Regions from separate parts of the Homo sapiens genome. Here region 1 is linked to region 2. Evidence: promoter capture Hi-C in 16 types of primary human blood cells and fetal thymus (Javierre and others, 2016). All regions are on one chromosome and are shown on one strand. The core of a region is centred on a gene start or on the middle of the fragment in contact, and the rest is flanking DNA. Distances in the headings are between cores, read along the strand shown. Region 1 overlaps LOC105375118 (a long non-coding RNA gene). Region 2 holds the start of PRKAR1B-AS1 (PRKAR1B antisense RNA 1).

The links. Contacts are between HindIII fragments. The CHiCAGO score rates a contact against its expected background, and 5 or more counts as called.
Region 1: a fragment that was not itself captured here is called in contact with the fragment with the promoter of PRKAR1B-AS1 in region 2 in 9 of 17 cell types (endothelial precursors, naive CD4 T cells, M0 macrophages and 6 more); the score reaches 7.6 in endothelial precursors.

The regions. Positions count from the first base shown.
Region 1 is chr7:327,585-333,152 of GRCh38, reverse strand. LOC105375118 (a long non-coding RNA gene) reads left to right here. Exons shown (of 3, transcript XR_926965.4): 1 at 1-65; 2 at 944-1,106; 3 at 1,790-3,526. Among named protein-coding and RNA genes, the nearest start is that of FOXL3-OT1, 39 kb to the right of the region's middle. RefSeq lists a silencer at 228-417. The HindIII fragment of the contact is 3,993 bases long and covers 2,251-5,568 here.
Region 2 is chr7:599,149-604,094 of GRCh38, reverse strand. PRKAR1B-AS1 (PRKAR1B antisense RNA 1) reads right to left here and starts at 1,250. Exons shown (of 2, transcript NR_110054.1): 1 at 798-1,250. All of the region lies in intron 6 of PRKAR1B (protein kinase cAMP-dependent type I regulatory subunit beta), which reads left to right. RefSeq lists enhancers at 1-447, 508-557 and silencers at 1,653-1,712, 2,453-2,562. The HindIII fragment of the contact is 9,643 bases long and covers 1-4,946 here.

The DNA.
Region 1 (5,568 bases), core at 2,998-5,497, 270 kb after region 2:
CTGGGACCTGAGCCCAGGGCCACCTGCATCGCGGCCCAACCTGTCTGGGGCCTCGTCCTCTCTCGGTGAGCGCGGGGGTCAGAGGGCGCCCGAGGCAGGGACTGTCAATCCTGGGCGGGTGGGAGGAGGGGGCTCCAGGGCCGCCTCCCCGGCGGGCCCCGCGCTCCACGGAAGGGGCTCTTCCTACCAACGTCATGCCTCAAACCAGGGCTGGGGGGCCCCGCTCCCAAGCTGGGGGACACCGGAGCAAACGGAACGGCGCAGGGCGGGCGCGGGCGGCAGCGCTGTCTGAGGTGCGGGCGGCACCTGCGCTTCCCCGGGAGGTTAGAGAAAGGCGCCCCCTGCTGGCGGCTGCGCCCTCGGGGGACCTGCAGGGCCCGAGGCCACGTGGAGACGAAGGAGCCCTCTCCTGGGGTGGGGGCACGGGACTGGGTTCAGCGCCTCCAAGCCTCTCCCCAGGCCCTCCACTGGGTGTTCTTGTTGGAGTCCGCAGCCTGCACAGTTCCAGCCCTGGCGGTCTGAGGCTAGGCGAGGGTGTGTGGACCAGGGAGACCCCGGCGCCCGGTGGGAGGGCCCAGCCCGCCCACCCCTGCCCTGGCACCTGCCGGCAGAGCCCCCAGCCCGCTCACCCCTGCCCCTGGGGCTGTCAGCATCCACGGGACGGCCACACCACACCAGGAAATGATCATTCCAGGTCAGGGCTGGGTGATTGCGGCGCCCTCTCCCCTTACCCCAGCGGTGGGCAACTTCGCACTTCGGATAGCATTTCCCCTGGGAAGAGGCCAAGCGTGCTTCGACAGGCGGCATCACAAAAGGTCAAGAGGCAAACACCCTCGGTCCGCCGCCTCGATAATTAGCTCCTCAGCCAGCCTGCAGAAAAGCCATCGGGCCTGGACAAGCTCCCAGGCACAGCACCTCACCACCCGCCCTCTGTCCTGCCCAGTGTACACACAGGAGCTCCTGGCACCCCGGAGGGCAGCCCCCAACCCTGAAACACACAGCGGCAGCGGCCTGACCTCCCCGGCACTCTCTACGTCATGTGTCTCAGATGGGGACCTGTGAGTCCCGGAACCTGACTCACGGGTTTGTGTCCACTCCTGGGCCAGGTGGGATTAAGAAATACTTTTAAAAAATAAATAGTTTCATTAACCAATAGTTCAGTCACAGGCAGGTTTGGAAATCGCAAGGAACCCAGTGGGGAAAAAGTAATGAAATCCAAATAAAGGTCTAGTTTAGTTAATGCTGGTGTGCCAGTATTGCATCCTTAATGTGACGAGTGCCCTGTCCTCGGGTAGGATGCCAGGAATGGAGGAAGCCAGGTGCAGGGTAGACCTAACTGTCTGTGCTATCTCCACAAGTTTGCTGTAAATCTAAACATAAAATCCGGTGGATCACTTGAGGTCAAGAGTTCAAGACCAGCCTGGCCAAGATGGTGAAACCCCGTCTCTACTAAAAATACAAAAAAAATTAGTTGGGCATGGTGGCAGGCACCTGTAATCCCAGCTACTCGGGAGGCTGAGGCAGGAGAATTGCTTGAACCTAGGAGGTGGAGGTTGCAGTGAGCCTAGATTGAGCCATTGCACTCCAGCCTGGGTGACAAGAGTGAAATTTCGTCTCAAAAAAAAAAAAAAATCTAAACATAAAATCTAAAATAAAAGTTTCATTAAAAACAGTTGAGAGAGGATATAATATAGGATCTTGTGGGTCACTCTAAGGTTGGATCCTGTGGGTCACTCTAAGGGTTTTGGGCTTTGCTGTCAGTGTCAGCACAATGATTTTACTTTTGCAGGTGGTGTGTCTCTCGGGACCAAGTGGATGTTGAGATACCAGCCGGACAGCTATTATACCAATGCAGAAAGAAGGAAATGGTGGCTTGGGTACTAGTGCCGGGGGACGGGGGAGAGGACATGGTTGCTTGGGCCAAAGGATGGTGCTGAAGTGGGGAGAAGGGGTCTGATTCCAGGTATGTTTTGAAGGTGAAGCCAACAAGAGTTGCTGACAGATTCAGCGTGGGGATGAGAGGAAAGGAGAGTCTGGGCTGAGCCCAGGGTCTCGCCTAACTAGCTAGAGGGATGAGGCCACGCTGACCCAGTGGGGAGTGGGGAAGGGCAGTGCAGGGAGGACAATGGGGAGTTTGTTCTGAGCATGTCCTGGCTGAGATGCCTGCTGGACTTCAAGCTCAAGAAACCTCTTGGATTTAAATCTAGAGTTGAGAGGAGAGGTTGTCCTTCAGGGGTCCATATGAAAGCTTCAGGTGCTTCCGAGGGATCCTCTGGCATGACAGGTCTGAGCCCGTCTTTCCCTCTCCGGCACTGCAGGGCTCCCGCAGTTCTGCTTAGATTCCTAGCAGCCTCTGCTCAGCCCCTCTGCGCTCACCCTGTGCTGCTTGCAAACAGACACCCTGGACTGTTGGGATCCTTTCCTCTCCCCGGGATCTTGTCTCTCCAAGCCCTGGCTGTGTGAGCAGTCCTGCACTCTGATTCTCGTCTTCCTGCTGGCACGACAGTGTTGAAAGCTCCTCTGAGCTTCTCGGATTCTCAGCAGACCTCCCTGCTCAGCTTCTCAGCATCTCTGCTCATGCCAGTTATGAGTTTGCGGTTGCCCCAAAGGGTGCAGAAGTTCGGGTCACCTCAACGCGTTTCCCTCCCCCACAATGTCTTGGGCCTTCAGGTCCTGGCTGCCTTGGTAACTCTCTGACACATTGAGACACATGTGGTCATTTGTTTTCTCCAACCTGGTTGATGGAAGCCAAAAGTGGACTCCTTTTTATTTTTTTGTTTTTTGACAGGGTCTTTCTCTTTTGCCCAGGCTGGAGTGCAGTGATGCGGTCACAGCTCACTGCAGCCTCAACGTCCTGGGCTGAAGCCATCCTGCCGCCTCAGCCTCTTGAGTATCTGGGAGCACAGGTGTACACCACCATGCCCGGTTAATTTATTTTTGTAGAGACGGTGTCTCGTCATGTTGCCCAGCGTTCCGCCTAGGCCTCCCGAAGTGCTGGGATTGCAGGTGTGAGCCACTGTGCCCAGCCTCCTCGTTTTTCTTACAGTTGTGTTTCACTTTATGGATCTATTATGATTTATATAACAACCTCTTATCAACGGGCTTTTAGGCCATTGTAAATAATGCTGCAGTGAGTAATTTCACACATAGACGGCCTCACCTGTGCGCAATGGTATCTATAGGATAAGCAGAATTGCCGGGCCAAAGGGCAGATGCATTTACATTTTTATTGATGTTGCCAACTTCGTGGCCATAAACGTTGTGCTAACTTGTCCTTTCATCAGCTATGTACGAGAGCGCCTGCTTCCCCACAAGTCTGTCAACATTGAGGGTTGCCTGGCATTTTGCTTTTTGCCAGTCTGACCCGTCATAAAATGGAACCTCCATTTAGTTTCAATTTGTGTTTCCTTGTTACCAGTGTGGTTGGGTGTCTTTCTATGTGTTAAAATGCCAGTTGCCGGCCGGCGCTGTGGCTCACGCCTGTAATCCCAGCACTTTGGGAGGCCAAGACGGGTGGATCACGAGGTTGGGAGATTGAGACCATCCTGGCTAACACGGTGAAACTCCGTCTCTACTAAAAATACAAAATATTAGCCGGGCGTGGTGGCGGGAACATGTAGTCCCAGCTACTCGGGAGGCTGAGGCAGGAGAATGGTGTGAACCCGGGAGGTGGAGCTTGCAGTGAGCCGAGATTGGTCCACTGCCCCCCAGTCTGGGCGACAGAGCGAGACTCTGTCAAAAAAAAAAAAAAAGCCAGTTGCCCATTTAAGTTCTTTACTCATGTTTTGATGAGTTTGCTGGTCTTTATCTCATTGTTTTCAGGAGGGTTTTTTTAAATGTATTTGGGAAAGTAGCATCTTGTCTACCGTATGAGTTGCTAATACCTCTTCCTCAGTTGGTTGGCTATCTGTTAACTTTGGCTTGCAGTATTTTAATATTTTTAAATGTATGTCTTGCATATTTCTTTTCTTTCTTTCTTTTTTTTTAGATGGAGTCTCACTCTGTCTCCAAGGCTGGAGTGCAGTGGCACAACCTCGGCTCACTGCAACCTCCACCTCCCTCATTCAAGTGATTCTCCTGCCTCAGTCTCCCCAGTAGCTGGGATTACAGGCGCATGCCACCACGCCCGGATGATTTTTGTATTTTTAGTAGAGATGGGGTTTCACCATGTTGGCCAGGTTGGTCTTGAACTCCTGACCTCAGGTGATCCGCCTGCCTCGACCTCACAAAGTGCTGGGACTACAGGTGTGAGCCACCACGCCCGACCGATGTCCTGCATATTTCTTATTAGGCTTATTCCTAGAAGTTTGTTGTTTTTGCTACTGCTAAAATATGCTATTTAATGTCATTAACTTTGCTAACTGAGGCCAGAGCTACGGGAAACTAAACGAAGTTAACCAACCAACCGAGCAAATAGCAAGTGCTTACTGAGCCTCTATATCGTCCTCACAATATTGTCGGAATGAAGCTGCCATGTTGGGTGTTGCAGGGACAAGAGAGTAGAAGATTCAATCAATCCTCGCTTTTAAGTTGTTCAAAATTGATTGAAAAAGACATAGAGAGACACAAAGACACAGCCTGGGTGGGGACAGGTGGGCGGCCCCAGGTGAGGGGCAGGCACCGAGGTCATCACGGGCGCTGGCGTTCAGGCCTTCCGGGTGGCAGCAGGGTGGGTTGAAAGGGGACTGTGGCCGACAGGAACATGGGCAGAGGACTGGCCAAGCAATTTCTAAGAGAAAAAAGGAACACCCACGATGAACACAGGAAAAACATACCCTCCTCTCCAGTACTTAAAAAAAAATGACATTTTACTGGCCCAACGAAGTGGCAAAGATTTCCTTCAAGGGTAAAACCTTGGGTAGGAGAGTCTTCAACAGAAACAGAGGCGGAGGGGAATGGCCACCATCCCTCTACGCACCTGTCCGGGCAGCGGGGCAGTGGGCCATGATCCTGAGCGTGTCCTGCGTACCAGGCACCCCGGGCAAGCAACAGAGAACCAGGCAGGTGTGGGAAACCATGTTCTGGCTGGGGAAGCAGACAATACCCAAGTCAGCAAGTGAATATGGGAGCGTGAATTGTGACCAGCATCACCCCACAAGAGGGAATGAACGGGACATTGAGGGAGGGAGTTGTGGGGGACCATGGGGCCGGCGTTTCCCTCACAGAGGGTGATATGAAGGGGAGGTGGCATCTGAGCAGAGAGGTGAAGAATGCAAAGGGGCCGGCCGCGTGGAGACAGCGGGGAGGAGAGGTCCAGGCAGAGAGATTAGAATGAGCCAAGGCTCTGCCTGGGAGCCGTGGCGGGCAGGCGGGCATCTCTCTCTCTCCCCATGGTCTCAGGGCTTCTCCACGTGCGATAGTTTCACAGCACGGTGGCCTCGGAGCATCCAGACGGCTAACTGGACAGCTCGGGGTTGCACGTGCCTGTTCCCAGAGACCAGGCTGACACCGACGCCTCCCGTGACTTCAGACCCCACAAGTCACGCAGATGGTTTCTGCCGTTGCCACAAGCCCACCCTGGAGGCCAGGGCAGGGGCCTGGACCCCACCTTCCTATCAGTCTCTCATA
Region 2 (4,946 bases), core at 1-2,500:
CAGCAGATGGGGCAGGGCTGATCCCAGAGAGACCCTGGCAGCCCAGGCCTGCCCAGTGGTCAGCAGTGCTGAAGGCAGAGCCACCTCTGCGGGAGGTATGGGATGGGCAGCTTCCTGACTGGACCCACCGCTTTATCCCAGCCCCAAATCTCATGCTACTACTTATAGCCCCTCTTCTAGTTCACACTCTGGGTCCTGGTGTCACCGTGTCACCTCCTCCCCCGCCCTGTCCATTCTGGGTCCTGGTGTCACCATGTCACCTCCTCCCCCGCCCTCTCCACTCTGGGTCCTGGTGTCACCTCCTCCCCCATCCCCTCCACTCTGGGTCCTGGTGTCACCTCCTCCCCCACCCTCTCCACTCTGGATCCTGGTGTCACCTCCTCCCCCATCCCCTCCACTCTGGGTCCTGGTGTCACCGTGTCACCTCCTCCCCTGCCCTCTCCACTCTGGGTCCTGGTGTCACCTCCTCCCCCATCACCTCCACTCTGGGTCCTGGAGTCATCATGTCGCCTCCTCCCCTGCCGTCTCCTTCCTGGATGTTTATTGAGTGCCTGCTTTATGCCTGGCACTTGTGACGAGGAGGACCTGGTGCCTGCTCTGGTGTGGGGGAGGTTGTGGCTTAATGGGGGAGAGGGACCAAGAACAGGAAATTAGCCAATGAATGTCCTGACTCTGGTTCTGCCCCTCCTGTCCCCTCTGCTTTCATTCCTGCTCTGCCTCACAAACTCCTACACATCCTACAAGACCCCGCCAGGCCCAGCTCATCTATCTGCGGCTGGGCTTTGATAGATACTGACCTCCGCAGATGACCGAGGACCTGCCTCCCTGCGGTGGGCCTGGGAGCTCCATAGGTCCCCACTGAGGCCTTTCCTCCCCTGTGGAATGCTTCTCCCTCTTCTGTGTCTGCCCATGTCATTCAAATCTTCCAGTTAAATTCCAAAGGCATCTTCAAGGTGCCGGTTTGCATCGGCAGGGCTTGGGGTTGAGGCCACCCCCAGGAATTCTGCTTTCCATGTTCTTTGCTTCTCCTAAATGAACAGATGTGGAAGAGACAAACCCTTTACCCAGAGATCCCTTGTGGAGCCTGAAACCGACATGGGGCTCCCAGGTTATGTTCCCGCCTAACTTGTCGTGTCTCGAGGAGGGTGGTGGACGGGTCAGGATCGCGTGGACTCGGGACTCAGAGGACCCAGGCTGTGTTCTTTGCTGGCCGTGACCTTTGCCCAGGCCCTTGTGTGGCTGAGCCGTGCCATTTCCATATTACTCAGAAAAACGAACAGAGCTCACTGCTGCCGGGAAGACTGAGATAACCCTCCTGGGGTTCTGCTCTTGGCCCCTGGTGTGGAAGCCATTGGCCGCCTGGCAGCTGCCCCGCCCCGTCTCATGTCCCCAACACACGCACCGCAAGAGCCTCGTCCACCCCACAGAGGAAACGCCCACCACCCACGCCCCGGGCTTGTCCTCATCTTCAGCGCGGGTGGCCACCCTCCTGCCCCAGCGCCAGGCCCCAGCCGGCAGCATGCTGAGGACTTCCTGGGAGAGGTGAGGGTGTGAGGGGCCGGCGGCTGGGACTGCTGGAGGGATCAGGTCCCTGTCTTTCCGCCGTTGGCCTCCAGGCTCCCGGGAGCCCCACCTGGGCCAGGACCTCGGCAAAGGGGCCGGGAGGTGTTGCTGCCCCGGCTGACCTTGGCGGGACCTCCTCCTCCTCCTCCTCATCCTCGCAGAATCCCCACCCACCCCTCGACCTCTGGACTCAGTGAGGCATCTCCCTTCCCTCCGTCCTTCCAGCAGGACAGACCCCCCCTCCCCCCGCCGCCGTCTGTAACTCCTTCATACATGACAGGGTGGTGGGAGAGGCCGGTGCCGGAGCCACTTCAAAGCAGGGACCGTTTCCTCCAGCCCTGAGCTCACTGGGTCCCCTCCCAGCCCAGCCCCTGCCCTGGCCCAGTTAGCGTGGGGTCGGGGCTGAAGCCTGAGTGGAGGGGAGACGGTTTTCTCTCAGACACGACGCGTCGTGGCGTCCTGCCTGGCTTCTCGCCAGGCCCGGGGACGTTGGGAGGCAATTTTGAGAAAGGAAAGAGTGAGGTCACCCTCGTGTAACTGGAGTTCCCCAAATATATTGTCCTGGCAAATCCCTCCCCTTCCCCCTCCCCATCCCCCTGCCCGTCCCTGCGCCTCCCCCTGCCCGTCCCTACCCCTCCCCAGCCCCCCCGGGTCAGGCACAAAGGCAGCTTTAAGGCCTCTGCTGGACCCGGCCCTCCAGAGCCAGGATGTCTGAGCCCCGTGGGTGGATGCCCACTTCCTGGCTACAGGCTCACGTGGGATGGCCGGGCCCCCTGCGGGAACCGGCTGTGACTTATGGGGCTGTCCCGTGAGTCCCAGGCGGCTGTGCACGAACACCAAGCACCTCCATCAACTTCAGATTTTCCAGCCAGGGCAGGGGTGGGCGTCAGGGAGTGCCCGGCGGGGCCGGGCGGGGCCGGGCGCAGGAGCTGCCTGCAGGGGCCCTCCTGTGATGTGGGAGGCCCTTCGCATGCAGGGTAAATCCGCAGGGCCCGTGTGGGTGAAGGCCACATTTAAGGGAATCAAAGGATGCTCAGTAAGGAATCTGGAATGAAAAAGTGGCATGTTGGGTAGCCCGGGTGAGTTATGGGCATATGTATTATAATAATTACTGTTATTACAGCACCCGGGGGAACGGCCGCATGGCAGCCCCAGGCAGCCCCATCCAGCTGCTGTGTGAACCCTGGGTGCTGCATGTTGTTTGCTGGTTTCTGTAAATCGCCTCCCTGGGGCAATGGGATGGATGTACCCTGGGTTCGGGGCTGCAGGACTACGGCTACCCAGGGTCCGAGTGGGTTTCTGAGGCTAGCGGTTTTCCCTGGTTTTATTCTGCGTGGCGGGAAGGGACGGCCGTTTGCCGTGGGTATTTAACTGCGCTGGCCAAGTGCCGGAGGCCCATCAGGAAGCCGTCCCCTCAAGGACCTGGCCCTGGCCCTTTAAGCCAGCAGAGCTTGGAGGTGGACGTCACCCACTTCTGCAGGGTGGACGCTGCCCTCTGACCAGCAGCGTCCAGGGGGACGGCCAGGTGACAAAATGCCAAGAGCACCAGGTTCAGTTTGAATTACGGTTTTCCAGAGACTCCGAAAGTGCCTGCTGCCGTCCGTGTGTTGCCAAGAGCTATAATCCATTTTTCTAAGTATAAAAATATCTTCCAATGTATTTTATTCATGGAACATAGCATTTCTATTTAAAAGGACACTCAGCTGCTGACTTTGCAGGCCTGGGAACGTAGCTCCCTTCCAAGCCCTGTTTGGGGCTCGACTCTTCCCCTGATTGTTTTTGGGCCCGTTATCCCGACTCCCTCTTTTTGCTCCCCGTCCCAGGCATCACGACGTCCCCACTGACGCTGGCCGTTCCGGGCTTCCCTCGGTTTCACACAACACGTCTGGGGGAAGAGCTCTTTCTGGGGGGCTGGGGAGCACCGCCAGGCAGCTGGGTGTACCCCGGAGCAGGGCGCCTCAGCTTGGTGATCTGATCAGATGTTATTCAGGTTGTGTCTTGTGTTCTGTGTGTTTTTAAAATTCGTTTTTTAATTTTTTGAGATGGGGTCTCGCTCTGTCGCCCAGGCTGGGAGTGCGGTGGCGTGATCATAGCTCATTGCAGCCTTGAACTCCTGGGCTCAAGCGATCCTCCCGAGAAGCTGGGACTACCACTGTGCACCACCACGTCCAGCTAATTTTAAAGTTTTTCATAGAGACGGGGTCTTGCTGTGTTGCCCAGGCTGGTCTCAGACTCCTGGCTTCAAGCAATCCTCCCGCCTGGGCTTCCCAAAGTGCTGTGATGACAGGTATGAGCCACTGCCCTCGGCCCTACTTTAATTGTAGTAAAAGACACACCACACTGACCATTCTAACCATTTTGTGCAGTTCGGTGGCATTAAGAATATTCACGTTGTTTTACAACCGTCACCACTGTCCATTTCCCAAATGTTCTTGTCTTCTTAAACTGAAGCTCTGTCCACATTACACACTCCCTGCCCATGCGCCTCCCCCAGCTCCTGGCACCCCTGTCCCACCATTGACTTCTAAACACAGAGGGTGAGCGAGTGAAGGTGAATGGGGGGCCTGCCCGTGCGCCTCCCCCAGCTCTTGGCACCCCTGTCCCACCATTGACTTCTAAACACAGAGGGTGAGCGAGTGAAGGTGAATGGGGGGCCTGCCCGTGTGCCTCCCCCAGCTCCTGGCACCCCTGTCCCACCATTGACTTCTAAACACAGAGGGTGAGCGAGTGAAGGTGAATGGGGGGCCTGCCCATGTGCCTCCCCCAGCTCCTGGCACCTCTGTCCCACCATTGACTTCTAAACACAGAGGGTGAGCGAGTGAAGGTGGGCAGGGGGCAGGGCAGAGCCAGGTGTGAGCTCGGCGCCAGAGAAGCTGCAGTGATGGTGGGGTGTAAATGCTGCCCCGCGGGGGACCCCCATTGTTTTTTCTTTTAAAAGAAGAGAAGCTGGGCGTGGTGGCTCACGCCTGTAATCCCAGCACTTTGGGAGGCCGAGGTGGGTGGATCACCTGAGGTCAGGAGTTTGAGACCAGCCTGACCAACATGGAGAAACCCCGTCTCTACTAAAAATACAAAATTAGCCGGGCGTGGTGGCAGTTGCCTGTAATCCGGGAGGCTGAGGCGGGAGAATCGCTTGAACCTGGGAGGCAGAGGTTGCGGTGAGCCGAGATCGCACCATTGCACTCCAGCCTGAGGAACAAGAGCGAAACTCCATCTCAAAAAAAAAAAAGAGAGAAAACAAAAAAATGAAACACAACAAGAAGTAGCCCCTTTGCGTACCAGCTGGGGTGGGGCCCGCACTGCGCCGGGAGTGGTGACAGTGGCCAGTGTCCTGAGAAGGATGGCCCCTTTGTCCTCCGGGCGGCCGAGCACAGTGTGGCCCT